Linked DNA regions of Homo sapiens: region 2 is linked to region 1. The links are contacts of gene promoters, found by promoter capture Hi-C in human tissues and cell types (Jung and others, 2019). All regions are on one chromosome and are shown on one strand. Each heading gives the region's core, a stretch centred on a gene start or on the middle of the fragment in contact. The rest is flanking DNA. Distances are from core to core; before and after follow the strand shown.

What was found. The method cuts DNA at HindIII sites, captures the fragments that hold promoters and counts their contacts. A contact is called where the count stands out against the background at its distance.
Region 2: a fragment that was not itself captured here is called in contact with the fragment with the promoter of BNIPL in region 1 in 3 of the 25 tissues and cell types used here (IMR-90 fibroblasts, lymphoblastoid cells and mesenchymal stem cells).

Annotation. Positions count from the first base shown.
Region 1 is chr1:151,031,228-151,038,135 of GRCh38, forward strand. BNIPL (BCL2 interacting protein like) reads left to right here and starts at 5,359. Exons shown (of 10, transcript NM_138278.4): 1 at 5,359-5,539; 2 at 6,340-6,435. The coding sequence starts at 5,499. It overlaps PRUNE1 (prune exopolyphosphatase 1), which reads left to right. Exons shown (of 8, transcript NM_021222.3): 8 at 2,579-4,486. The coding sequence ends at 3,007. The HindIII fragment of the contact is 8,096 bases long and covers 1-6,234 here.
Region 2 is chr1:150,686,007-150,692,792 of GRCh38, forward strand. All of the region lies in intron 2 of GOLPH3L (golgi phosphoprotein 3 like), which reads right to left. Among named protein-coding and RNA genes, the nearest start is that of GOLPH3L, 7.8 kb to the right of the region's middle. The HindIII fragment of the contact is 5,683 bases long and covers 1-4,092 here.

The sequences.
Region 1 (6,908 bases), core at 4,109-6,608:
ACCAGGCTGGAGTGGTACAATGGCACTATCTCAGCTCACTGCAACCTCTGCCTCCCGGGTTCAAGCAATCCTCCCAGCCTCCCAAGTAGCTGCGGCTACAGGCACACCACCATGGCTAGCTAATTTTTTTTGTATTTTTTGTAGGGACAGAGTCTCGCTATGTTGCCCAGGCTGGTCTCGAACTCCTGGACTCAAGTGATCCACCAGCCTCAGCTTCCCAGAGTTCTGGAATTGCAGGTGTGGGCCACTATGCCCAGCCAGGAGTCCTTTTCTTACAGTCTACTCTACCATCTCCTCTCTTTCTCCTATGTTAGGGGTAGTATAATATATTGATTTAGAACACTGGCTTTGGTGACAGCTCTGGGCTCAGTGTCAGTTTTGCTTCATGCAAATTATGACCTTAGGCAAGTTACCTGATCATTGAAGCCTCAGTTTCCCTGCATGTAAGTGAGGGTAATAGTGATACCAGTCTTATTTTGTTCAATTCATTCTTTCTTCCTCCATCCCTCTTCTGGCCTCTAGATAAATTCTAGTTCCATCCTAGTTCAAGTTCTTGAGCACATTTATACACTTGGAAACGACACTAGATTAGAAGCTGGGGTTCCTCGGTTCTGGTTTAACTGCCATCATCTGCATGATTTTACTCACAACCATCTTACTTCGCTTTAGTTACTTTAATAATAAAATGAAATATACAATCTAAACTGTTTCCTCTGTTTTTAAAATACTGTGTATGGCTGGGTATGGTAGCTCATGCCTGTAATCCCAGAACTTTGGGAGGCTGAGCTGGGCAGATCACCTGAGCTCAGGAGTTTGAGACCAGCCTGGCCAATATGGCGAAACCCCGTCTCTACTAAAAATACAAAAATTAGCTGGGCATGATGGCAGGTGCCTGTAATCCCAGCTACTCAGGAGGCTGAAGCAAGAGAATTGCTTGAATCTGGGAGGCGAAGGTTGCAGTGAGCTAAGATCGTGCCACTGTACTCCAGCCTGGGTAACAGAGCAAGAATCCATTTCAAAAAAAAAAAAATTAAAGTAAAATAAAATAAATAAAACACTGTGTATGAATCCCAGCACTTTCGGAGGCTGAAGCAGGAGGATTGCTTGAGACCAGGATTTGGAGACCAGCCTGGGCAACATAGCAAGACCCCATCCCTAGTCTATTAAATAAAAAATACAAAATACTAAAATAAAATACTGTGGGCCAGGCTTGGTGGCTCACACCTGTAATCCTAGCACTTTGGGAGGCCGAGGCGAGAGCGGATGACCTGAGGGCAGGAGTTCGAGACCAGCCTGGCTAACATGGTGTAACCCCGTCTCCACTAAAAATACAAACATTAGCCAGGCTGGGTGACACATGCCTGTAGTCCCAGCTACATGGGAGGCTGAGGCAGGAGATTCACTTGAACCGGGGAGGCAGAGGTTGTACTGAACTGAGATTGCACCACTGCACTCCAGCCTGGGCGACAGAGCAAGACTCTGTCTCAAAAAAAAAAAAAAATACTGTGTATATTAGTGTTCCTTCTGTTGCAAACAATAAAACCGAACTCTGGACAACTTACTTTTTTTCTTGTCTTGCTTTATTGCCCAGGCTGGAGTGCAATGGTGAGATCTCGGCTCACTGCAACCTCCGCCTCCCAGGTTCAAATGATTCTCCTATCTCAGCCTCCCAAGTAGCTGGGATTACAGGTGTGAACCACCATGTCTGGCTAATTTTTGTATTTTTCGTAGAGATGGGGTTTCAGCATGTTGACAAGGCTGTTCTCGAATTCCTGACCTCAGGTGATCCGCCCACCTTGGCCTCCCAAAGTGCTGGGATTACAGGCGTGAGCCACTGTGCCCGGCCTCAAGGATAACTTACTTTTTTTTTTTTTTGAGACGGAGTTTCGCTCTTGTTGCCCAGGCTGGAGTGCAGTGGCACCATCTTGGCTCACTGCAACTTCTGTCTCCTGGGTTCAAGTGATTCTCCTGCCTCAGCCTCCCAAGTAGCTGGGATTACAGGCATGCGCCATCATGCCTGGCTAATTTTGTATTTTTAGTAGAGATGGGGTTTCTCCATGATGGTCAGGCTGGTCTCAAACTCCCGACCTCAGGTGATCGGCCCCCTTTAGCCTCCCAAAGTGCTGGGATTACAGGCGTGAGCCACCGCGCCCGGCTGACTTACTTTTTTTTTTTTTTTTTGAGATGCAGTGTTGCTCTGTCGCCCAGGCTGGAGTGCAGTGGCGCGATCTCCGCTCACTGCAAGCTCCGCCTCCTGGGTTCACGCCATTCTCCTGCCTCAGCCTCCCGAGTAGCTGGGACTACAGGCACCCGCCACCATGCCCGGCTAATTTTTTGTATTTTTAGTAGAGACGGGGTTTCACTGTGTTAGCCAGGATGGTCTCAATCTCCTGACCTCATGATCCACCCGCCTCGGCCTCCCAAAGTGCTGGGATTGCAAGCGTGAGCCACCGCACCCCGCCCGGCCGACTTACTTTTTAAAAGCTTCCTCTTCTATAGAGGAAGCCTCTCACTTAGAAGCCCAGCACTTTGCTACAGCAAGTTGTGTATCATTTCCCTGTTATTGTCTCCTCTTTAGATCTGTGAAGTCCTGGAACGCTCCCACTCTCCACCCCTGAAGCTGACCCCTGCCTCAAGTACCCACCCTAACCTCCATGCCTATCTTCAAGGCAACACCCAGGTCTCTCGAAAGAAACTTCTGCCCCTGCTCCAGGAAGCCCTGTCAGCATATTTTGACTCCATGAAGATCCCTTCAGGACAGCCTGAGACAGCAGATGTGTCCAGGGAGCAAGTGGACAAGGAATTGGACAGGGCAAGTAACTCCCTGATTTCTGGCCTGAGTCAAGATGAGGAGGACCCTCCGCTGCCCCCGACGCCCATGAACAGCTTGGTGGATGAGTGCCCTCTAGATCAGGGGCTGCCTAAACTCTCTGCTGAGGCCGTCTTCGAGAAGTGCAGTCAGATCTCACTGTCACAGTCTACCACAGCCTCCCTGTCCAAGAAGTGACTGTTGAGAGGCGAGGAGGTAGTGGGTGAGGCTACCTGACTCACTTCAAATGCATGTTTTGAGATGTTTGGAGATTCAGCAATTCTGTCTTCATTGCTCCAGGATCTGGTATACTGTTCTCATAAAACTGAGAGGAGAAAAAAAGTGAAAGAAAGCAGCTGCTTTAAGAATGGTTTTCCACCTTTTCCCCCTAATCTCTACCAATCAGACACATTTTATTATTTAAATCTGCACCTCTCTCTATTTTATTTGCCAGGGGCACGATGTGACATATCTGCAGTCCCAGCACAGTGGGACAAAAAGAATTTAGACCCCAAAAGTGTCCTCGGCATGGATCTTGAACAGAACCAGTATCTGTCATGGAACTGAACATTCATCGATGGTCTCCATGTATTCATTTATTCACTTGTTCATTCAAGTATTTATTGAATACCTGCCTCAAGCTAGAGAGAAAAGAGAGTGCGCTTTGGAAATTTATTCCAGTTTTCAGCCTACAGCAGATTATCAGCTCGGTGACTTTTCTTTCTGCCACCATTTAGGTGATGGTGTTTGATTCAGAGATGGCTGAATTTCTATTCTTAGCTTATTGTGACTGTTTCAGATCTAGTTTGGGAACAGATTAGAGGCCATTGTCTTCTGTCCTGATCAGGTGGCCTGGCTGTTTCTTTGGATCCCTCTGTCCCAGAGCCACCCAGAACCCTGACTCTTGAGAATCAAGAAAACACCCAGAAAGGCCTTAATGACCTCATAGGCACTCTTCCAAAAAGACAACAGAACTGGAATGAGAGGCCTGGGTCTGTCTCCTGCCTTAGCAGGCCTATCAATTTCTTGTCAATCTCTTTTTTTCCTTGCTCACATTAAAAGGAAGCATGGAGTTCTAATGCTCCCATAAACTATGTATTTTGGCAAGACACTTCACTACTCCAGGTCTCACTTTCCCCATCTGTAAAACAGGGTTTGGACTAGGTGTTCCCTGGTATTCTGTGATCTGCCTCTTGCTGCCATTCTTTCTCTCCTCTGCTTCTCTGTATTTTTCTTCTGTTATCCCTGGGGGTGCTCAGGTTCACTTGATTGTCTGTATTTCTGTGTGGTTGTAGCAAGGACTCAGCCTCATGTAGCACGAATAGGGGTGTGGTTCATGGCGTGTTGACCCAGCAGAGCACTCCCTCCCACTAACTTGTTCTGCATGTGTAGAGTCTCCCCATTTTTTTTAACGCAACCCTTTCCCCTTTTTCCTACCCCACAGCTCTGTTCCATGTAAGTTGCCAACAGTTTCACTGAACAGTGGGGTATGTGATGGTTTTGGCATGACATCTTCAGTATGAGGGGGACAGTTTGACTTCACTTTGAGGGTGTGATGTCTGTAGCTATGTGGAAGGTAAAAATAGTGGTGTGATCATGAACCAAAGGAATTTATGTTTTGTAACTTGGGTACTTTATTTTGCATTTTGTTATACTATTAAATAATTTTTTCCTGTTTGGGGGTCTTACTGTCTTTTTTTACAAGTGTATTCAGGCCTTTCTCTGTGATAGTTGTTTCAGTCTCCTCAAAATTGATCCCCCTTCTTCCTACTATACTTAATGTCTTCTTTCTGTTGACTCTTTTTGGGAATAAGGAGCAACAGGCTTCTGTCTCCCCTCATCCTCAGCCTCCCGTTCAACTTGTTTATTCTCCCAGAAACCTCCTTATAACATACTTCCGTTTCCCCAGTTTTCCTTATGCTTGAAAAGTAGATCCAAGATAACAGTCCTAGAAACACACACAATGGTTTCTTTTTCTTTTTTTTTTTTTTTTTGAGATGGAGTTTTGCTCTTTTTGCCCTGGCTGGAGTGCAATGGCACAATCTCAGCCCACTACAACCTCTGCCTCCCAGGTTCAAGCGATTCTCCTGCCTCAGCCTCCCAAGTAGCTGGGATTATAGGCATGTGTCACCACGCCCAGATAATTTTTTTTTTTTTTTTTTTTTTTTTTTTTTTTTGGATTTTTAGTAGAGATGGGGTTTCTCCACATTGGTCAGGCTGGTCTCAAACTCCCGACCTCAGGTGATCCGCCTGCCTTGGCCTCCCAAAGTGTTGGGATTACAGGTGTGAGCCACCACGCCCGGCCAGAAACACAACGGTTTCTACTGGTTTTTTTGCTTATTTGTGTAAAGAGCAACTTTGAGAGGGATATATGGAGTCTGGAAAGGAGAACAAATTGCCTTCCTAGACTCAACCGAGACTGGCCCCCACTAGAAAATGCACTCTCCTCCCCAAAACCCGCCCCCTCACAGGAGGCAGGGTTTTTCTTTTGGGCAAACCTGCTCCTGGGGAGAGGAGTGGCAAAACCTGTTTTGAAGATGAGGTTACCTCCCTTCCACACCTCCCTCCTTGGAGGCAAGAGCTACAACAGCTGAGACAGAAAAGAGGTAAGGAAGTGTTGGGGGCTGGGACAACCAGCTCCCCAACAACTCCTAGGTGTTTAAAGAAGGAGGCAGGAAGACTTGTGAAGATGGGAACTATACAAGAGGCAGGAAAAAAGACAGATGTTGGGTAAGTAAGATCTTGGCTCACTTGATTGGTAACAGTGAATAAACAGTCCGGAGAGACTTCCCCACCACCCAGCTCTTACTGGGTCAAATCTCGGGTTCCTCAAGGAGACAAGACTGTAAGAGAGTTTGCAGAGAAGAGATGAGGGTGGTTTTAGGTAGGAAATGTCAGTATGGTATGGAACTGGGGAACAGGATTCCAGGATAATTCCCTGGTTTAAAAATAAAGGAAGTTTCTGTAATATGTTGTACCTGATAAATCTGCCTGTGTTCTTTTATTTTCTAACCCTCACCCTCCAGAATGGCCATCAGGAAAGCTGAACCAGAACCGAGTTTAGGTCCAGGTTCTCGTTCTGGCAAATCTTTCTCCTTACCTTCTTCCTCCACCCCTCCACTTATGCCATGTTTTCCCTTAGCCACTCCCCAGCTCGGTGGAGGAAAGGCAGGCCTAACTAGGTACCGTCTTCCCGACTTTGCTCAATGATAGCTGGGTGGGTCTAGCTGGGTTCCAGCCACTTGTAATGTGGGACATCTCTCACCCCAACTTTGTAGGTGGAGCAACTGCTACAGAGGTAAATATGATTAACTTTACATTCCATCTTTCGTCTGCTCCCAAACTTAACAGCAGGTAATCTGCTTCTAGCAAGTGGTGAAGGTAAGAGAAGCATCTGTATAGGAGGCAAGAGATCTGAGTCCTTTTGAAGGCCTATCCTCTGCTCTGTATCTCAATTACTGTTCTTCATTTCAATTATTCTTACCTACTATTCAGTTCCCTTGATCTTTTCTTCTTGGGGGCTGTCTTAGGGTCAGGGAGATTGCAGAAGCACCAGAACTAGGAGCAGCCCTGAGACATGGGGAGTTGGAGCTGAAGGAGGAATGGCAGGATGAAGAATTCCCTAGGTGAGGACGTGTGAGGGTGGCTGGGAGAAGGGAGGGGTGGTCACGAATGGACGGAGGGGATGGCGCGGCGGCTCATGGCTGTAATCCCAGCACTTTGGGTGGCCGAGGCGGGTGGATCACCTGAGGTCAGGAGTTTGAGACCAGCCTGACCAACACGGTGAAATCCCGTCTCTACTAAAAATACAAAATTAGCCAGGTGTGGTGGCACATGCCTGTAATCCCAGCTACTCGGGAGGCTGAGGCAGGAGAATCACTTGAACCTGGGAGGCAGAGGTTGTAGTGAGCTGAGATTGTGCCATTACACCCGAGCTTGGGCAACAAGAGTGAAACTCTGTCTCAAAAAAAAAAAAAAAAAAAAAAAAAAAAAGCAAATGGACACAGGGATGGTGAATTAGGACTTGAAGGAAAAAAATGGGAAAAAGAAAACAGAGGCCGGGCGTGGTGGCTGATGCCTGTAATCCCAGCACTTTGGG
Region 2 (6,786 bases), core at 1-2,500, 350 kb before region 1:
TGAGATTACAGGTGCGTGCCACCACACCCGGCTAATTTTTGTATTTTTAGTAAAGATGGGGTTTTACCATATTGGCCAGGCTGGTCTTGAATTCCTAACCTCATGATCTGCCTGCCTTGGCCTCCCAAAGTGCTAGGATTACAGGCGTGAGCTACCGCACCCAGCCAGCATGTCCTTTTTAAACTGCAAAGTCAGATATTTGTTTTTGTTTTGTTTTTCCTGTTTTGAGACAGAGTCGTGCTCTGTGGCCCAGGCTGGAGCACAGTGGTGTGATCATAGCTCAATGCAGCTTCGAACTCCTGGGCTCAAGTGATCCTCTCACCTCAACCTCCTGAGTAGCTGGGACTATAGGTTCACGCAGGGCTGTTTTCATTTTTTTGTAGAGATTGGGTCTCATTTTGTTGCCCTGGCTTGTCTTGAACTCCTGGCCTGAAGTAATCCTCCCATTTTGGCCTCCCAAACTGCTGGGAATACAGGCAGTGAAACACCACGCCCAGTTGCAGAGTCAGTTTGAATGTAAATTCCACAATTTATTGCCCAAATGATCATTTAACTTTGACTCCTATAAAGAGAATGATACCTGCCTTGCAGGATTAAACAATAGAAACTGCAAAATGTTTTGAAAATAAATTATACAAACAAAATATGGAGGCAAAAGTGATGAAATGGCTGACAGCAAGTTTATAGGCACAGTGGTTACAGCCAAAATCCCAAATTCAAGTGGGCAGCTTTGTCTCAATATCAATACTAGATATTTTATATTTTGGGAGAGTACTGTGTGCATTTGGGGATTGGAAGAATTAGGGAGAAGATCTTAATGAAATAGCTTAAGCTATATTTTCCTACTATTAAAACAGGTCTTTGGTCTTCCAGTTTATTTCCTTTTATACCAATAGTAAATAGTTATTTGGGGTTAATATGCCTGGATATAATAAAAAACAAAAGTTAATTTTTTTAACAGCTTATGTTTAAAGAAAAAAACCTGACAAACAAGCCCTTCTGATACAGTTGCCCTATTCACAATCGCAGTAGCTACTGGGAGACTTATTGTTCATTTTGCGCGATTAGGAAACTAAAAGGAAAGACCAGGTAGTAACTTAAATTAGACTTTTAATTTTTTTTTTTAAGACAAGGTCTTGTTCTTTGCTCGGCCTGCTATTAATATTTTAATTATAATAAAATGCTTTAGGATTGAGTCACTTTTTAAGGCGGCCAATTTTCTTCATTCATAGCCAATAATCAACAAGTTGGACACTGACTGACTGTGACTGATTTTAAAAACCTTTTTGGGCTGGGCGTGGTGGCTCACATCTGTAATCCCAGCACTTTGGGAGGTCGAGGCAGGCGGATCACCTGAGGTCAGGAGTTCGACACCAGCCTGGCTAACGTGGTAAAACCCCGTTTCTACTAAAAATACAAAAAATTAGCCGGGCGTGGTGGTGCATGCCTGTAATCCCAGCTACTTGGGAGGCTGACACAGGAGAATTGAACGCGGGAGGCAGAGGTTGCGGTGAGCCAAGATCGTGCCACTACACTCTAGCTTAGGTAACAAGAGCGAAACTCTGTCTCAAAAAAAAAACAAAAAAAAACTTTTTGATTAGTGAATTTTTTTTACCAGCTTTAAAGAAGCTTTTACTTCTAATCTCCTATTGCTAATAAAGATGAACTATACTTGATGGAGGATCATCAGCAGCTTGAAAAAGCGTAGCATTAACATACTTTATAATTAAAAATACATATGAATTTCATACGTATAATTCCCATACGTATAGTGGATAACAGTAGATTGTTTGAAAAAAGATAACTGACAAGTACCAGGAGAATTTTAGCAGCACTGTTCATAATGAACTCTTGAATGTGCATTAACCCATAGAATGAATAGTGGTATATTCATGTAATGAAATATTAATCAGGATGAACTGGATTAAACTATATGCAACAACATGGACAAATCTCACAAACATTATATTGATCAAAAGAATACATTAAAATATTAACCCAATAAAATAGAGTTTAAAAACAGGCAAAACTAAAATATATTGTTTAGGGATATACATACATGTCAAAACTACAGGGAAGTGGGCAGCATGTGATTAGGGGCAGGCATAAGAGAAGCCTTCCAGGATGCTGATATTGTTCTATTGGTGATTACATGACTGTTGGCTTTCAAACTACTTGTTAAACTGTATATATGTGCTTTATACAATTTTCTGGATACACTGTATTTCACAATTTTAGAAAACTTAAACAATAAAGCATGTAACTGGATGTTCAGCTCTCATACTTCAGTTTTAAAACACTGGAGTTCATTAAAAGGAGATGGGATGCTTTCAGACATCTGTGGTTATTCCAGTTGCACATCACTGAAATTATTAGGAACATCCAGTTGATGTTCTTTTTTCCTAGAACCTGTCTCTTTACAGACTAACTCACTCTTATTCCAGTTAAGAGTTATTACCTCCTGGCGGGGCGCAGTGGCTCACACCTGTAATCCCAGCACTTTGGGAGGCCAAGGCAGTTGGATCACCTGAGGTCAGGAATTCAAGACCAGCCTGGCCAACATGGTGAAACCCCGTCTCTACAAAAATACAAAAATTAGCCGGGGATGGTGGCAGGTGCATGTAATACCAGCTACTTGGGAGGCTGAGGAAGCAGAATCGCTTGAATCCGGGAGGTGGAGGTTGCAGTGAGCCAAGATCACGCCACTGCTTTGCAGCCTGGGTGACAGAATGAGATTCTATCTCAAACAAACAAACAACAAAAAAAAGAGTTATCACCTCCTGTAAGTCTTTCCCAACATCTCTTCTTCCCTCTCCTACTGCTCCTTCCCACCACCCATCTGATTTACGTGCTTTTCCTCTGTGTTTCCTTCCTACTCAGAACACACTTATACACATATCACATTGTTCTGAAATGGTCTGCTGACTTTCTGGCTTCTACTCCCAGCATCTCCAACCATCCCTATGCCACTAAACCATAAATTGACCTCAAAAGCAGGGACAATTGTTTTTGTTCTCTCTTTCTATGACATATGAGTCATTCAATAAAATTTTTGGTGATTAAACAAATAAGTGAAAATGTATTGCCATATTTCCAATGGATAATACTTCTTGCCAATTTTTACCACAGTGACATGAGAAATATGATGAAAAGCTTTTCTTTCACAGTAAGTAGTAAGTATTCAATAAATGGCATTACTAGGAGAAAGCTTTCCAAGAAAGAGAGGATGGTTGAAAAACATTATCCACAAATTAAATAGATGAGAAATGAAAAGACCACTAGGAGTCAAAAGCAGTAATTGGCTTACTCCCCTTACAGGTAACTTAAGAAACGATTCTAATAAATGAAAAGTTTTATACATTAGCAAGTCAATTAAAACACTGTTCATGAGTTAATAATCTATATCAAAACTCTTACCAAAGGCAATAATAACAAATAAGCAGATTCCTGATTTCAACAGGAGATAAACCTATTTTATTTTGGTCAGGCTTGTGCTCAATGTTTACTTTCTCAGTTGAGGTCAGTGTTATTGAACTGAGATAGTATCTAATTTTAACTGTGCTTGAAAGGTTATACTCTTCAAATTATATTTAAATTTCTTGATTGTTTTCATAAGACAATGATACTTAATATTTAATTTAATTAGTTTATATTTTTTGAGGCAGTCTTACTCTGTCACCCAGGCTAGAGTGCAGTAGTGTGACCTTGGCTCATTGCAGCCTCTGCCTCTTGGGTTCAAGAGATTCTCCCATCAGCATAGCTAGGATTACAGGTGCATGCCACCACACCCAGCTAATTTTTTTTTTCCTTTAGTAGAGATGGGGTTTCACCATGTTGGCCAGGCTGGTCTCGAACTCCTGGCCTCAAGTGATTTGCCCGCCTCAAACCTCCCAAAGTGCTGGGATTATAGATGTGAGCCACTGCGTCTGGCCAGATGCTTAATATTTTAAAACCAGTCTGTGGTAGTTACCCCTCAGAAGAATTTTTTTTTTTCTTTTAAGACAGGGTCTCACTCTGTCACCCAGGTTGGAGTACAGTGGCACAAACACAGCTCACTCCAGCCTTGAACTCCTGGGCTCAAGCAATCCTCTCGCCTCAATCTCCCAAGTAGCTGAAACTGCAGGTATGTGACACCATGCCAGGCTAATTTTTATATTTTTTGTAGAGATGAGGTCTCACTATGTTGCCCAGGTTGGTCTAGAATTCCTGGCCTCAGGCAATCCTTCTGTCTCCCAAAGTGCTGGGATTACAGACAGGAGCCACCGTGCCTGCTTGAAAGACACATAGTTTCTAAAAAAATGATAATACTGGGTTCTAAACAGAGGATCTTAGGGAACTCTCCAGTAAAAGTTTGGGAGTTTGGGACACAAAATTTAACATTTAGGATTTTTTCCTTTTTTGACTTGTCACAAATCCCAAACCATGTAAAAACAAGCAATTATATACACATTAAAACATACTCACAAAGAACATAAAAATGTTATTAAGCCCTTAATTTGGACACAAAAATGAAATGGGCTTTGCTGTTTTCATTAGGCTGATTCTCTTTTCCCTAAAGGAAAGAGTCTAAAAGTCTCTGCCTGGTAACAAAATCTATAATCTGGTCCAAATCGAATTTACTGATTTTGAATCCCATTGTTCTCCACCTACTTCAGTCATACTGGCCTACTCACAGTTATCTCCCAAACTCATCAAGCTCATGATACCTTTGCTCACTCAGGTTCCCTCATCCAGAACGTGTTTCCTTTTCTCCATTCATGTTAATCCTCCCATTTTTAAAGGCATGGCTTGTTTTACTGCCTTTTTCTATTCTTCCCCGGATTACTCTATCTCATGATGGTTTCTCCTCTCTCTAACTCCCTTGGCTCATTCTAACATGCAAAAACTTGCTTTTTATTGTTGTTTACTTTAAAAAAAATATTTTGCATTGTGAAATATAATGTACACACAGAAGAATAAACAAAACAAAGTAAAAAGCTTAATTATTCCAAAGTGAAGATCTATGGCCCAGGTGCAGTGGCTCACGCTTGTAATCCCAGCACTTTGGGAGGCCAAGGCAGGTGGATCACTTGAGATCAGGAGTTCAAGACTAGCCTGGCTAACATGCTGAAAACCCTTCCCTACTAAGAATACAAAAATTAGCCAGGAGGGACAGAGCAAGACTCCGTATCAAAAATAAATAAATAAATAAAAAAGGCCGGGAGCAGTAGTTTACGCCTGTAATCCCAGCACTTTGGGAGGCCACACCTATAATCCCAGCACTTTGGGAGGCCAAGTTGGGTGGGTCGCCTGAGAGGTCAGGAGTTCAAGACCAGCCTGACCAATATGGTGAAACCCCATCTCTACTAAAAATACAAAAATTAGCCAGGCATGGTGGCGGGTGCCTGTAATCCCAGCTACTCAGGAGATTGAGACAGGAGAATTGCTTGAACTCGGGAGGCGCAGGTTGCAGTGAGCCAAGATGGTGCCACTATACTCCAACCTGGGTGACAGAGCAAGACTCTGTCTTAAAAACAAAAACAAAAACAAAAACAAAACTATGAAACTTCCTCTAGGTCCAGAAACAGAAAATTGTTACTATCTAGAAATCCTCTCCATTTTCCTTCCTAATTACTAACACCCTTTTCCTTCCCCTATCCCTTACAAAAAGATAATCACTATTCTAAAAACTATAGTAATTCCTGGCTTGATTTTGTTTATAATTGTACCACCTAAATATGCAACCTCAAATACAATAGTTTTTTGAGTTTCATATAAATGGAATCATACAGTATGTATATTTTTGTGTTTGGCTTTTTTTATTGAACATAATGTGAGAAATATACATGTTGTATAACAATGTTCATTTTCATTCTGTATAGAAAACATATTTATACTCATTTAAACAAATGGATGACTCTTTTTTTTTTTTGATGATTCATTTTTATCCATTCTGCTGTTGATGGACCTTCGGGTTACTTAACTTTTAAAAAGTATGTATCTTTTTGTCTCTCCAGCTAGAATGCAAGTTTCTTGAAGGCAGGGACCATATACTATACTATTTTATATTTACCTTAGTATTAATATTTAGCATAATCCTAAGCACATAATGGGTGTCCTCAATCACATTAAATATTGATTAAATGAATCTATTGATAGTTTGAGAGATAAGAAAAAAATAAGTACAGTTGGGAATCAATTTAATATTTTTAGAGATAGTTATGTAACTGGCCTTTTGTAACTACTACTATTTAAATAAATCACAAAGTTTGACCTCTTCTATTCATTTACACCTAAGGATTTATTGTCTTTTATTCTTCCTGAGCCAAATGAAAGCTAAATATTTGTTAACTATCCTCAAAAATAAAATTAGAGCAATTCAAAAGGTGGTTAATTGTTATGTGCTATTATTTATTATTTTTTGAGGCCTTGCTCTGTTGTTCAGGCTGGAGTGCAGTGACACAATCCTGGTTCACTGAAGCCTCGACCTCCGAGGCTTAAGCCATCCTCTTGACTCAGCCTCCTGAGTAGCTAGGACTACAGGCATGTGCCACCATGTCCAGCTAATTTTTTTGTTTTAAATTTTTTGTAGAGATGGTGTCTCACCATGTTGCCCAGGCTGGTCTTGAACTCCTGGGCCCAAGCAATCCTCTTACCTTGGCCTCCCAAGTGTTAGGATTACAGGAATTAGCCATTGCATCCAGCCATCTGCTTATTTTGTACAGTATCTCACCAATATGTTAAGTACTCACCATGGCCATAGCTCTTAATGAGCTGCTTTATTTTTTATTCTATTTCCTAAAATTT